Linked DNA regions of Homo sapiens: all the other regions are linked to region 3. Evidence: promoter capture Hi-C in 16 types of primary human blood cells and fetal thymus (Javierre and others, 2016). All regions are on one chromosome and are shown on one strand. Each heading gives the region's core, a stretch centred on a gene start or on the middle of the fragment in contact. The rest is flanking DNA. Distances are from core to core; before and after follow the strand shown.

Evidence for each region. The method cuts DNA at HindIII sites, captures the fragments that hold promoters and counts their contacts. A CHiCAGO score of 5 or more calls a contact.
Region 1: a contact is called between a fragment that was not itself captured here and the fragment with the promoter of XPNPEP1 in region 3, in 1 of 17 cell types (total CD4 T cells). The highest score is 6.1, in total CD4 T cells.
Region 2: a fragment that was not itself captured here is called in contact with the fragment with the promoter of XPNPEP1 in region 3 in 1 of 17 cell types (total B cells); the score reaches 5.5 in total B cells.

What each region holds. Positions count from the first base shown.
Region 1 is chr10:112,182,963-112,187,745 of GRCh38, reverse strand. It overlaps GPAM (glycerol-3-phosphate acyltransferase, mitochondrial), which reads left to right and starts at 3,981. Exons shown (of 22, transcript NM_001244949.2): 1 at 3,981-4,053. RefSeq lists a silencer at 3,834-4,063. The HindIII fragment of the contact is 4,662 bases long and covers 628-4,783 here.
Region 2 is chr10:112,372,928-112,377,309 of GRCh38, reverse strand. It overlaps ACSL5 (acyl-CoA synthetase long chain family member 5), which reads right to left and starts at 3,194. Exons shown (of 21, transcript NM_203379.2): 1 at 3,041-3,194. RefSeq lists enhancers at 461-961, 984-1,203, 962-1,462, 1,344-1,493. The HindIII fragment of the contact is 494 bases long and covers 1,898-2,391 here.
Region 3 is chr10:109,921,506-109,926,298 of GRCh38, reverse strand. It overlaps XPNPEP1 (X-prolyl aminopeptidase 1), which reads left to right and starts at 2,788. Exons shown (of 21, transcript NM_020383.4): 1 at 2,788-2,897. The coding sequence starts at 2,866. RefSeq lists a silencer at 2,573-3,112. The HindIII fragment of the contact is 9,615 bases long and covers 2,381-4,793 here.

The DNA.
Region 1 (4,783 bases), core at 1,709-4,208, 2.3 Mb before region 3:
GTTATTGGGTGGCATGTTCTATAAATGTCAATTAGATCAAGTTGGGTTGATAGTATTGTACAAGCCTTTTACATCCTTATTAATTTTTTACCCACAGTTCTATTAGTTATTGGGGGAGGGGTATTGAAATGGCTGACTACAATTGTAGATTTTTAAAATTTCTTCTTGCAATTCGATTAGTTTTTGATTTATATGTTTTGAAGTGCTGTATTAGAGGAATAAATATGTAGAATCAGTTTGTCCTCATTATGAATTGACCCTTTTATCATTATAAAATGATCCTCTATATTTCTGATAATATTCTTTGTATTGAAATTATATGATATTAATATACCCACCTATATTTCTTTTGATTAGCATTAGTATAGCATACTGTTTTCTAACCTTTTACTTTTACTTGTCTTAATATTTAAAGTGAGTTTTTAAATAGGTGGCATATCATTGGATCTTCATTTTTTTTCCAGTCTGACAATATCTGCCTTTTAATTAGGGTGATTACTTATATGAGCTTAAATCTATCATCTTGCCATGTATTTTCTCTTTATTCTATCTATTCTTTCTTTTCTCCCCCATCATTTACTGCCTTCTTTTGAATTCATTAAACATCTTAAAAATTCGACTTAAGCTTCTTTGTTGATGTGTTAACAATAACTCTTAGTTTTGCTTTCATAGTAGTTGCTTTAGGAGTTAAAGTATACATTTTTAACTTATTACAGTTTACCTTCAAGTATATTATACTGCTTGGTGCGTAAGATAAGAATCTTACAACAGAATACTTCTCCCTTCCTGGACTTTGTGCTGTTGTCATCATACATTTTATTTGTACATGTTATAAACCCCACAAAATATTGTTTTTGTTTGTGCATTAAGCAATCATGTTTTAAAAGAGTTTTAATGGCTGACATGGTGGCTCACTCTTATAATCCCAGCACTTTGGGAGGTCGAGGCAGGCGCATCACTTGAGGTCAGGAGATCGAGACCGGCCTGGGCAATATGGTGAAACCCCAACTCTACTAAACATACAGAAAAAAATTAGCTGGGCGTTGTGGCGGGTGCCTGTAATCCCAGCTACTCGGGAGGCTGAGGCATGAAAATTGCTTGAACCTGTGAGGAGGAGGTTTCAGTGAGCTGAGATCACGCCACTGCACCACTGCACTCCAGCCTGGGTGACAGAGCGAGATTCCATCTCAAAAATAAAATAAAATAAATTAAAATAAAAGGGTTTAAAAAATAAGAAAAATTATTTACCTACGTATTTGTGGTTTCTTAAGCTCTTAATTCCTTTGCATAGATTCAGAATTCCATCTGACAGCATTTTTTTTTTGCCTGAAAGACTTTCTTTAACATTGCTTATAGAACGGTCCTGCTGGTGATGAATTCTTTTGGCAATTCGATGTCAAAATATGTTTTTATTTTATTTTTTTGATATATATAAAAATATATAAAATGTACATACCATATATTAATATAAAAAGAACTCTTGATTGATAGGTTCTTCATTCAGTACTTCAGATGCTGCTCCACCATCTTCTGGTTTGCATTTTTCTGATGTGAAATCTGCTGTCATTCTTATCTTTGTTCCTCTGTACAGTAATGTCTTTTTTTTTCTCTCTGATAGCTTTTAAGATTTTCTCTTTATCAGTGGCTTTAGGCATTTTGATTGTGATGTTTCTTGGTATGGTTTTCTTCATGTTTCTACTGAGTTTGTTGAGCTTTTTGGGTTTATAAGTTTATAGTTTTGGTCAAATTTGGAAAGTTTTCATCAATTATTCTTTCAAATGCTTTTTTCTGTCCTCCCTAATCTATTCTCACCTCATATTTCTCATTTTCTTCAGGGACTACAATTGCATGTATACTAGGCTCACTGATACTCTACTTTTACTTTCAGTATTTTTCTTCCCTTAGTGTTTCATTTTGGATAGTTTCTATCACAATGCTTTCAAGTTTTTTTTTGTTTGTTTGTTTTTGTTTTTGAGACAGAGTCTCGCTCTGTCACCCAAGCTGGAGTGCAGTGGCACAATCTTGGCTCACTGCAAGCTCTGCCTCCTGGGTTCACGCCATTCTCCTGCCTCAGCCTCCCGTCAGGTTTTTTACTGTTTCTTTTTTAGTAATGTCTAACCTATTAATCCTGTGTGTGTGTGTGTGTGTGTGTGTGTGTGTGTGTGTGTGTGTGTCTGTGTGTGTGTGTTAGGGTGTTAAAAATCTTAGATGTGGTTTTATTATCTCCTAGATGTTTGGTTTGTGTCTTTTTTTTTTTTAAAGATTTTTCACATCTCTACTTCCCATGCTCAGTTTATTTTTTCTACTTGTTGAAAACATTGAATACAGTCATAATTACTTTCTTAATGTCCTTGTTCTCTTATTTTATCATCTCTGTCATTTCTGGGATGATTTCAATTGGTTGATTTTTTTTTCTCATTTCCTGCTTCTTTTCGCATGCCTGATAATTCTGTTTGGATTCCAGATGTTGCAAATTTTACCTTGTTAGGTGTTGGTTATTTTTAATTTCCTGTAAATATTCTTGTGCTTTGCTCTGGGACACTTTGTTCTCAAAAACGGTTTAATCCTTTGGTGGCTGGCTTTTAAGATTTCTAAGATAGAATCAGAGTAGCTTTTACATTAGAGCTAATTTTGCCCCACTACTGAAGCAAAACCATTTGAGTTGTGAATTATGAGGTTTTCCAGTCGGGGTGCCAGGATCAGGCACTATTTCTGGTCCTGTATAATCACTGGGTATCTTTCTACTCTGCCTTGTGGGAGCAGAATTAATTTCCTACCCTGTGCAAACTTTAGTAATTGCTCTCTCTTTTCTTCATACATGATTATTTCCTGCCCTTAGGTAGCTTCCTCACACACATGCTCTAATCAGCGGAAGACTGGAGTGAGATCTGTTGTAGATCTCCACAGCTCCTTCTTTCTCTGTGTAGCTTTCTCCTTTCTGATATACAACTCACAGTTCCAGCTGCTTTGGCCTCCCTGCTCTCCCAGTTCTATCTCTTCAACTCAGGGAGTCTGCCTAGCTCTTTTTGGCTGCTCCCTCTAGTTAGTAAATCAAGGCAATCATAGGGCTCACCTCATTTGTTTTCCCTCCTCAAGGACCACTGTCCAGCACAACGTTTAAAAGCCATTGTCTTATAAATGCCTGTTTGTTTTTGTTTTTAGTTGTTTTAGGCAGGAGAGTAAATTCAGTCCTGTTGCTCCATCTTAGCTGGCTAGACTGGATTGCTATAAATTTTAAACTATCTAAATAGTTGCATATATTTAGGGGGTACAAATCGATGTTATGACTTATGAATACAATGTGGAATAACTGAATCAAGCTAATTGACATATCCACCTCAAATACTTCTCAGTTTTCATGGTGAGAACTTTTGAAATGTACTCTTAGCGATTTTGAACTGTATAATACATTATTATTTACTATATTCACCATGCTGTGTAACATATAGTCCGAAGGGGGAAAAAAGCCCTTATTTCTCCTAACTGAGGCTTTTTATACTACAAGCCTTATTTGCTTCTTTTCATATCTCATTTTCCTCCTTAAAGGAAAAGGCACTCAGCCACTTTGGTAGAAATTACACAACATGGCCATTTGCAATCCCTGCCTCTCCCATTCGTAGTAAATCCTACATAGTCTTACAGATCTCATAAAAAGTCAGACCACACACATAACCTGATAGCCCACGCGCACATTCCCAACAGAGCCTGGAAGAGGGACAAGCTCCCGGATAAGCTGAATTTACACAAAGCAGAATGAGGTACCCACACACACTCACACACGCATGGCCTAGGCAGGGTAACCATCTGTCCAGGCGCTCACACACTATCTTTAGCCACACACAGGCACGCACACTCGAGTACACACATTACACCCTCGGATCCGCTCACGCTCCCTGAGGCTCGCAGGCCGGGCCCCGCCCCCGGCGCTGGCTAGCCGGCGGCCCCGCGTCAATGCCACGCGCCGGTTGCGTCATCAGGGTGCGCCACTGCAGCTGGCATTGGCCGGGACTGGAAGTGCGGGCTTCTGCAGCAGCCGAAGCTGGAGCTGCTAGGGTGCGAACTGCCAGGGCAGGTGTGGGCTGCGGGAGGCTACTCGGGCCGGGAGCGCCGGGACAAGTGCATGGAGGTGGTGCGACTCCTGCAAGTTGCTGGGGCAGTCGTGTCCCCTATTCCCTGACACCCGAGCTCCGGTCTTCTCCCTGAGAAATCGGTCGGGCTCGTGCAGGGGTGGGGATCAGGATTCATCTCTCCTGGGGAGACTGCGCTGGGGCATGGGTTCCCCTGGGTTGGAAGGAGTCCTTATGGACTCAGTCCCCTAAGTATCTGCACGCGCGGAGGCGCCGCCAGCCAGCCCGCCTGGGTCCCTAGGGAACATTGAGGCAGTAAGGGGTACTCTGAGAGCAGCCGGTATGCTGGAGATAATTAATGACAGCGTTACCATTGATTGGACTGAGCGCTCACTGTGTGTTACACACTGTGGTAGACCCTTTGTTTATATTATTCCGTCCTCTCAACAATCCAGGAGGTTAAGAGCTATCATTCTGCCCATTTTCCAGATGGGAAAACTAAGGCATAGAAGTTAACCAACTTATGGTAATAAAAAATCACACAGATGGTAAGCAGTGGAAGATTTAAACCTCACAGCTGGTCTTCCAGCCTCTGTCCTTTTCAGATCCTCTAGTCAGCTTCTCTCAGCGCATGCTGCTGGCTGGTGCCTCTGGGATATTGCTTCTTTATTACTCCTTGACCTAGAGCGAACTGTGCGGAGGGAGGAAGTGCAAAA
Region 2 (4,382 bases), core at 895-3,394, 2.5 Mb before region 3:
CCTCAGACTCCCAGAGTTCTGGGATTACAGGTGTGAGTCACTGCGCCCGGCCTTAACTTTATTTTTTAAGACTCTGCCTCTGATATAGAATACTAATCACCTACACATTGGAGCTATAGATTCAATTCTACCTTTCAGACCACCAAAAAAAGGCTGATATCTCAGAAGGTACCAAGCCCCGGTGGTAGAGTCCCTTTCCAGTGCTTATTCCCTGAGGGTCTCCGGTGGTAGAGTCCCTTTCCAGTGCTTATTCCCTGAGGGTCTCCGGTGGTAGAGTCCCTTTCCAGTGCTTATTCCCTGAGGGTCTCCAGTGGTAGAGTCCCTTTCCAGTGCTTACTCCCTGAGGGTCTTTGAGATTCACCTTAGGACCCTCAGGGAGTGGGCATTGGGAAGGAAGTACTTAGGAATTAAGCAGCACCTGAGACTTAACCTGTGGCCTTACTTCCTAAAATACACTCAGCTCCATTCATCTGTCTCTCCCACCCCATTGGTCTCATTCATCAGTCTTACCCAACATAAAATTGAGGGCAAACCCCCAGCCCACCTCAGGGGAGCTATGCTGGATGCTCAGACCCACAAAAAGAGGTCTCTGTTTTGGTTCACCTTCCCCAAGAGAGTCGAGAGAAGGAAAGTGAGCCCCATGCATGCCCCACATCCTTCCTTCCCGTTGCTCCTCCTGACACAGGGTCTGAAGGCATGACCGAGACCAGGAGGGAGACAGCATGATGTGCCCGTGGAACTCAGCCGGCCCTTGATTCTAAGTCGCTTAAAGAAAGTCGGGGGTCAGGATGCCCCCTTGGCCTCTGTCACACCCTCACAAGACCCCCTTGCTGAATAACACCCCCTCGATGGTCCCCTTACCCTGCGAGGGGGCCGCATCTCTCAGTGCTTCTAGTGAATGGGGGCTTCCCGGCTCTGAGTTCTTCCTGCCACACGAGTCCCTGTCCTTCTTCCCTCGCTCGTGGTTCCTCCAGAGACAGGGTGGCTTCAGAGCGTCCATGCAGGCAGAAGGCCGGCCCAGAGTGTCCCCAGTTCTGCCCTGCTCTGAGCTGTCCCGAGTCAGGCCATGTCAGGCTTTCTAACGTGCTCGGGGACTTCACTTCCTGGTTTTAATTTTTTTTTTCACAACTGAAAGTGGAAGTGTTCTGACCAGGAGGGGAGAAGCTGCCAAAGCTACCCTGGCTCCGTGTCAAAGCCTTTCACCTCAGCCCCTAAGGGCCGACACAAAAGCCAGCTTGCCTCAACACAGTTGACCCTGCCCTCCTGTGGCCTATCATCTTTCAACTAAGATGAAAACAAACAAACTAAAATGACTTGAGGTGCCCCCTCAGATCAGAAGCCTCACAGAGGCAGAGGTGACGCTGTTCCCTGCTGGATTCGGAGGACAGGAAAGTCTGGCTAGAGGGTACCTCAGCCCTCAGACCCACACAAACACCTTCTACCCCGCCTCTCTCCAGTCGCCAGAGCTGCCTGCCTTGGTCTCTGAAGAAGTTCTGGCAAAGCCAAGAAAATAAGCAAGTCAGGAACGACAGGGCTGTGAGTCGTTCAATTGGCATGGTTTCTTTCCCTCTGATACAGTCACACCTCAAAACTTAACTTAAAAATCGATTCTTTCGCCTTGGTCACCCCCAGTATTACCAGGACCTGTATTAGTCTCATTTTTGATCCGCCTAAGGCTGTGGCTACAGGGGGGCCCTGGAGCTACCATTCTCAGATTAGGAAGCCGAAATGACAAATTTTCCTGCCCCTTCCCCACCTCACAGATACCTCAGAATGAAGCAGCACTTTCTCCAGCCTCGATCCCCCACGAAGGCTCACAGGAAGTTCAGCATGATCCTGGCTCTTTGCTGGAGCTAGATTAGGGTTTGTTCTTTCTACAGAGCAGTTCTTAAAAGCTTCCTACTAAGGAAGCCAGGGTGAGCTGTGCCACAGTCTCAGAGAACACAAGAGCTGAGCCCTTGGCCTCTGGGGAGCCGCCTTTGGACATGGAAGAAAGATGAAGGGCTGGGAGACGAAGTGGGGCCTGTGGCATTCCATCCTCTGGCTCATCTCACGGCTGGAGGAGCACTTGTCATTTGCTTAGTTTCAGGAACTCAGCTCCCCAAGAGGCAACTTCCTCTAGAGGAGAGCAGAGGATGGCAGAGTGGGTGTCGAATCTCAGCCACACTAATACCTCTGAGCCCTTCACCGGGTGCTGTCTTCCTTCACCAAAGGGCTCAGGGCCAGGGGAAGATGAGGTTTTATTTCTTTTTTTTTTATTGACCTCCTCCAGTAAAAATGCTCAAGTTCAGGAAGGTTGAGTCATTCTAAAGGCCCATCAGAGTTGTATTCCTATCAATCCTCTGTGCACATGAGTGACACCCTCAGGATTTCAGGGGGTAACTGAAAGCTTTGGCAACCCACAACAATTCTGCATTATTGGGCAGGCTGTGGAAACTGACCAATCAAGTCTCAAATTCTAGCCACACCACCTTGGAGCTATGTAGCTTAGGCCATGCTGTTTAACAGCCTGGAGACGCACTATGCCTCTGTGAAATGGGAAGGATACCACCTGCTTTATAGGATGAGATACACCAATGAAGTAACATACATAATCTACCCAGAACAGTCCCCAGCACCTAATCGAATATCTGCTGATTCCCTTCCTCTCTGTCTGCCAAATGGGACTCTCTGCCCTCAGCAGCTGACGCACGATCCTTCTAACTACACTGAGACAGAAATTTCTTAATGGAAGATGAAGGAGACCCACATTCTGGCTTGGTGTGCTTTAGTACACTTACCAAAATCAGTGTTCCCTTCCAATTCCATCCCCTGCTAGCATTTGGATAGCTCATATATCTCCACCCCTTTTCCAACTGATTTTTTTCTTTGCCTCCCACACAAGTCAGCTGAGATTACTATTCAACTAAATGTAATTTCATGTTATTAAAGAGCCTTAGGTTGAGCATAACAAATCCCACTTTCTTTCCCCACACCAATCCCCTCCCTACTATCTCACAGATATATTCAATATAGTGCAGGTAGTATCATTGCAGCTTACCTTGGAAGAAGACTCTCCCTTCCTGGGTCCAGGAAGTGCTCCCCTCACAGCTGGCTGTATTGATTCAGCACCACATTCAGGCACTTCTACTCTTTCCACAGCTCCTAGGACTGACTGGGACACACCCGAAGCTACTGTGTACTGTCCTGAGAGTGGCCAACACACTCCCCTGGAACCTTTGAATCTGTCACAACAGAAGTTCAAAGGTAGAAGTTACCTGTTCAAACACTTGTAGTAACCTCTGACAGTAAGAAAAGCAGTGTTGGGCAAAAGATTAAAACAAGAGATTGTTATGCAATGGGCTTAAGCGGGAAAAAAAAAAAAGACGGCCCTTAGTTCAGAAAGCTAACGTTTACCAAGAGAAACCTTCGATAAAGCTCTACCTCAGGGGAAGGAGAAGGGGTAGACAGGGCTTTGCATCTGCTTTGGGGGCACAATCCTTGAGACTGTGATAGGAAGAGGAAGGTCTAGATTACTAGAAGAAAAAGGGCTCCTTGAGATCAGAGTGAGAGAAAAATGAGAAGCCACTTTAATTGGCTCAAGCTATAACTTTAGGATTCAGACTAAGCAGAGGTGTGCATTTGCAGACCAGCTATCTTCTAGAAGGGACCACTGCCCCCTTCAGAATTAGAACGTCTCCAAGACAACCAAATGAGCCAAATCAGTCTAGAGTCTAGGCTGAGAGACAAGCCTAGGACGGTTGTTTTTAGGATTCGGAATCACGAACACAGTCTGCAGCACACATAGTTTAGCAAGGCGCTAGAATAGGAAGCATTGCTTCCTGGCTAACACGGTGAAACCCCGTCTCTACTGAATACACAAAAAATTAGCCGGGCGTGGTGGTGGGCCCCTGTAGTCCCAGCTACTTGGGAGGCTGAGGCAGGAGAATGGTGTGAACCCGGGAGGTGGAGCTTGCAGTGAGCCAAGATCGCGCCACTGCACTCCAGCCTGGGCGACACAGCGAGACTCTGTCTCAAAAAAAAAAAAAAAAAAAGAAGCATTGCTACTGCGTCATGGCTCAGCCATCCTACTCTCTCCTTTTTTTTTTTTTTTTTTTTTTTTGAGACGGAGTCTCACCGCAACCTCCACTTCCTGAGTTCAAGCAATTCTCCTGCCTCAGCCTCTGGAGTGGCTGGGATTACAGGCATGCACCACAATGCCTGGCTAATTTTTTTTTTTTTTTTTGTATTTTTAGCAGAGACAGGGTTTCACCATGTTGGCCAGGCTGGTCTCGAACTCCTGACTTCAAGTGATCTGCCTGCCTCGGCCTCCCGAAGTGCTGGGATTATAGGCATGAGCCACCATGCCCAGCCTCTCTTTCCACTTTGAAGTTCTCTAGTCA
Region 3 (4,793 bases), core at 1,539-4,038:
GTCACAATTCAATCCAACATATTTCTACGCATTTAATATTTCTGGCTACATCTAAGACCCACCCGGTCTGGGTGTGAATGCCAAAACCAGCTGTCTCCCTCTTTCTGCTGTGTGGGCTAGGAGACTGGATGAGGCCACCTCTAGGGTCCCTTCCAGATAACTTCGCGATTAAGTGTCAGGGCTAGGAATCCATCCTGCTGTCTGAATGTATGTTACAGTACCACCACTTACTAGCTCAGGGACTTTGGGCAAGGGGCTTAACCTCTGCAAATTTCAGTCTCCTCAACCAGTAAAATGAGGATAAGAGTCCTTCACCCATTGGTTTGTTGTGGGTTAGACACATAGCCTTCAATGAATGTCAGGCAGTGTGACTGTTCCACTTCTTTGAGGATGCAAGGACTGTAGAGCCAGGAGAAGAACCTATATAACTCCTGGTGTTCTCATTCTCTCATGGTAATTCAGTGCTATAACTTCTCCAGAGGTTCTCTTGTTAGAACTTCAAGAGCGAGGCCGGGCACAGTGGGTCATGCCTGTAATCCCAGCACTTTGGAAGGTCGAGGCCAAGGAGTTCAAGACCAGCCTGACCAACATGGTGAAACTCCGTCTCTACTAAATACAAAAAATTAGCCGGGTGTGGTGGCGCATGCCTGTAATCCCACCTACTTAGGAGGCTGAGGCAGGAGAATTGCTTGAAGCCGGGAGGCAGAGGTTGCAGTGAGCTGAGATTGTGCCATTGTACTCCAGCCTGGGCAAAAAGAGCAAAACTCCATCTCAAAAAACAAACAAACAAAAAAACTTCAAGAGGGGAAAGGGTTCCTTTTTTTATCTTGCAAACAGGAACTCAAATCCAGCTCAGGGAATGCAAGGTATTTCTCTCTCTCCCCTGAAGCTGGATGCCGTAAATTCTGAGCCAACTCCTTTTCTTTTAGGCAATGTGATTATTAAATACCTGTCCCCCTTAAGTTTCACTTATCTCTCTCTCTCTTATCTCGTTTTCTCTTATAACTTGATTTTTCCCACCAGCTTTCAGATGTGGGCTGGAACCAGTATTTTATTTACAATCTCTCTGTTTTTGGCTTCATAAATTTGGGGAAATGCAACAGATGTGTGCTGCTTTCCCAGGAAGCACATCTTTAGTTTTTTCATGCTTTAACTACACAGTCTAATTCGGCTTGCCTAAATGCTTATTCAATAACGACTTTGAGTTCTTGCAGGTAGCAGAACCTAGCTGATACAGGTATATTAGGCCTTACACCAAGGTCAAAGCAGGAGGAGGTGCCATTCACCTTTAAAAAAATGTGGTCACTTTCATTTAGTGCCAGGTGTTGTTCTAAGCACCAGGGAAATAACAATGAACAAGAGAGCCACCATCCCTGCTTTTGAGGAGTGCACATTCTGAAACATTCATTTCTGCAGAAAATATATAATGAGAACTTATGACATGTTAGATATTGTTCATCATTAAACAAAACAGAAACAATCTGCACTGATGGTTTTGTTGTGTGCGTGGGTGGTGGCAGGAGAGGGGGAAGAATACAGTACACATAAGTACATTAAAAGAATCCTGTTAAAAGGTGGTAAGTGCTATGGAAAAAATGAAGTAGGGTAAGGCGGATTAGGAATATTGGAATGATTTACAAATTTAAATAGGATGGTCAGGGTAGGTGATACTTGAACGAAGACTTGAAGGAAAATGAGGAAGGGAGCCTCAATATTTGGGGGATGAGCAAGTCCAAAAGCCCTGGGACATGAGTGTACCCTGCTTTTTCAAGGAGAGCCAGGAGGCCATTTCAGCTGAAGAAGAGTGAGGAAGGTGAGAACAGGAGGAAATGTGGCTGGGGGTAGATCAAATGGAGCTTTTATGCTGCGTGAAACGAGAAATTAATGGAAAGTGCTGAGCAAAGAAGTGACCTGGTGTCACGCTTCAAAGGACTGGTCTGGCGGCTTTGTTCAGGCTGGACTGTGCAGGTGCGGGATGGTGAGGGGATATTTGGGGGGCTGCTGTAACCACACGGGTGGGGTGGTACAACCCTCTGATGCACATCAGAGGGTAGGAGGTGGAGGTGGTGTGACACGGCCAGATTAGGGGTCTATTTTGGAGGCAGGGCCAACAAGATTTTGCTGGCAGATTAGATGTGGGGTGTGAAAGAGAAGAGGCAGGGAGGATTCCTAAATTTTGCCTCTTAAGAATAGAGTAGCCATTGATTGAGATGGCAAAGAAGACTGGTGGAGAACGTTTTTGCTTTGCTTCGGTGCATTGGGAGTTCCAGGAGTTCCGTTTGGACGTTAAGTTTGAAGGGGCTATTTACTATCCAAGCGGAGCGGAGAGCTGGATTTTGAAGCTCTCTGGGAACATACTTTTGGGGACATTTCTAAAGCTTGAGACCCTGTTCCAAAGCCTCGAAGACCCTGTCGAGGTTCTTCCGGAGCCGGCCACGTCCCTCTCTTCTCAGCCCTCCTAAATTAAGCCGGAAAATCCCTGGGACAGTAGCCCCTTTATTCGGCAAAGCCCTTTTTCCTCTTTGAGGAATGACGACAAAAACGAACAAAAATGAAGACACTCAGCAGCACTGCGTCCTTTCCCCGCTCGCTGCAGGGAGAGGCAATGCGGACTGGTGTGGAAGGGCAGGCCCCGCTCTGGGCCGCAGGCGCTGCGGCCGCGAACCCCAGGTCCGGGAGTGTGGGCGGGGCCTGCGTGTGGGCGGGGCCGCGGCGCCAGCGCCCGCCACGGGCGAGGGCGTGGCCGACCCGGCGCTAGCCCGCCCGCCCGCCCGCCGGCTCTCGCGCCTCCTTCGCGCCGGCCCTTCCGCGGGTGATCAGCTGGTCTGCGCTCCCCTGACGTGGGCTGGGGCACGTCACCGCCGAATGGCAGCCTCCAGAAAGCCACCGCGAGTAAGGTGAGGGCACTCCGCCGGCAGCCGGCGTCCGGGCAGCGTGCAGCCCTCGCTGCGCGGCCGCGCGTGTTGCACCTCGGCGGGCAGGGACGCGCGGGTGAGGAGCCCGGCCCGCCGCAGTCTGGCGAGGGCCGCGCTCGCCGGAGCCCCGGAACAGGAGCCGGGGGAAGGGGTCCATGAGGCCGGGCGAGATCCGGTTCGTTTCCGGAGGGTCGGTGGGCACGGGGCGGCCCGAGTCTGGTTCCTGGACGCGTATGCCCGCGGAACTGCTGCACTCGGCCTGAGGGGGCGGCGGCCGTCACAGTTCCTGGCCCGCGGGAAGGCCCCGTTCTTGGAGGAAGTTGGCCCCTCTTCGTGTCCGGGGAGGTGGGCGAGCCTTTGCCCTCGCTTCTGTTACCCAGGAATCTAAACCTCAAGTTACAATCTCGACAATACTGACTCCTGCAATTCACTCTACTGATCTGTCACCGCCACAAGGATAGACGGTCGCGGGCCCCTCCCTACCCAAATGGTTTCAGAGGCTGTGTAAGGGAATATTTTGGTATAATCTCCAGGAAAATCCCCCCAGTAGCCTGCCCTGGGCTCTCCTTGGGCATAGGAGGGTGAGACAGATAATTTCCCGGCCTCAAGTTAAACATGTTTTAGTTTATTCCCCTGCCATAACCAGGATGTACTTATCAGAGCCTCTGACAAAGTGGGAGACGGAGAGAGGTGTTCAGAGTTCATGGAGGCCACAGGCCAGACTCCCTGGCCATCCCCAAGGGGTCACCCACCTGCTAACCACTTGAGACATGAATGCACTCACTTTGCAGCATGGCCAGGCTTTCTTGCTGAACACAGACCATGGCTCCTGCTTGTGTTTGTGAGTAGGGGGGTCCCAAACCTACCTTGACCTGGATTTGCCGTTGCCACAGCTTGTTAAGGGTGAGCAGAAAACCAGACCCACCCTGTGGAAGTATGTGGGAGGGGTGGAGAACTTCCATCTGGAAGGAGCTTCCTGTAAGTGAAGTGCTGGAAATGGAGTCAGGCAAGTGGATAATGATGAGTTAGGCTGTAGGCCTCAGGTGGTCTTTAGGGGGCCAAGGTGATCTGTGCTAGATTTATAGACTCACAGCCTTTTAGGAGCAGAAGAGTCTTTTCTACACCAGCTGGTAGAGTCTTTTTTACCTCAAAGGAAAGTCCAGTGAAAGGCTGAGAGAGGGGAAGCCATTTTCCACAGGCGCCTCCCCTACTGGTAGAATTTGAGTGCCATTCCTTGTAAAAGTGAGCACTTCTTTCAGTTTCGGTAATGGAAACTGAACTCAAATTGATTTACCTAAAATGGGGTTGAGCTGGCTTCTAGTGTGGCTGAATCCGGGAGCACCACCAACATTGGCTTCAGACTTCTCTTTATCATCTCTTGGCTCTGATTTATTCAGTATCCGCTTCATTCTCAGGGAGACTTTCTCCTTATGGCAGGTTATGACAGTTCTAGGCTGACAGCCCCAGCAGAGAAGTTGAGCCCTCCTTCCTAATGGAGCAGAAGTCCCTGATCTGATGCTCACTGGGCTGCCTTAATTCTCATGTTCATCTGTGAACCAATCATTATGGCCAGAGGGAGGGATTGACCTGCTTTGGGTCCCAGAGCCTGTTAGGTGTTTGGATAAGACTGCTTTGAACCCCTTGGGCTGAAATGGAGAGGGTACATTCTCAAAAGGAAAACCAAGGTTCCCATCAAAAGGAGGGATGGATTCTGGGTAGACAAAGACAACATTGCTTACTTCCCAACCTTAGAACTTGTTCCAGTTTACCCTTGTCTCATCCACTAGGTGTGATTGAGCATCTTGTTCCTTGTTTTGCCCCATGCTGAACGCTACACATGTGTGATTCCCATGAACTGGGGGTTGCAGGGGGGTGAGG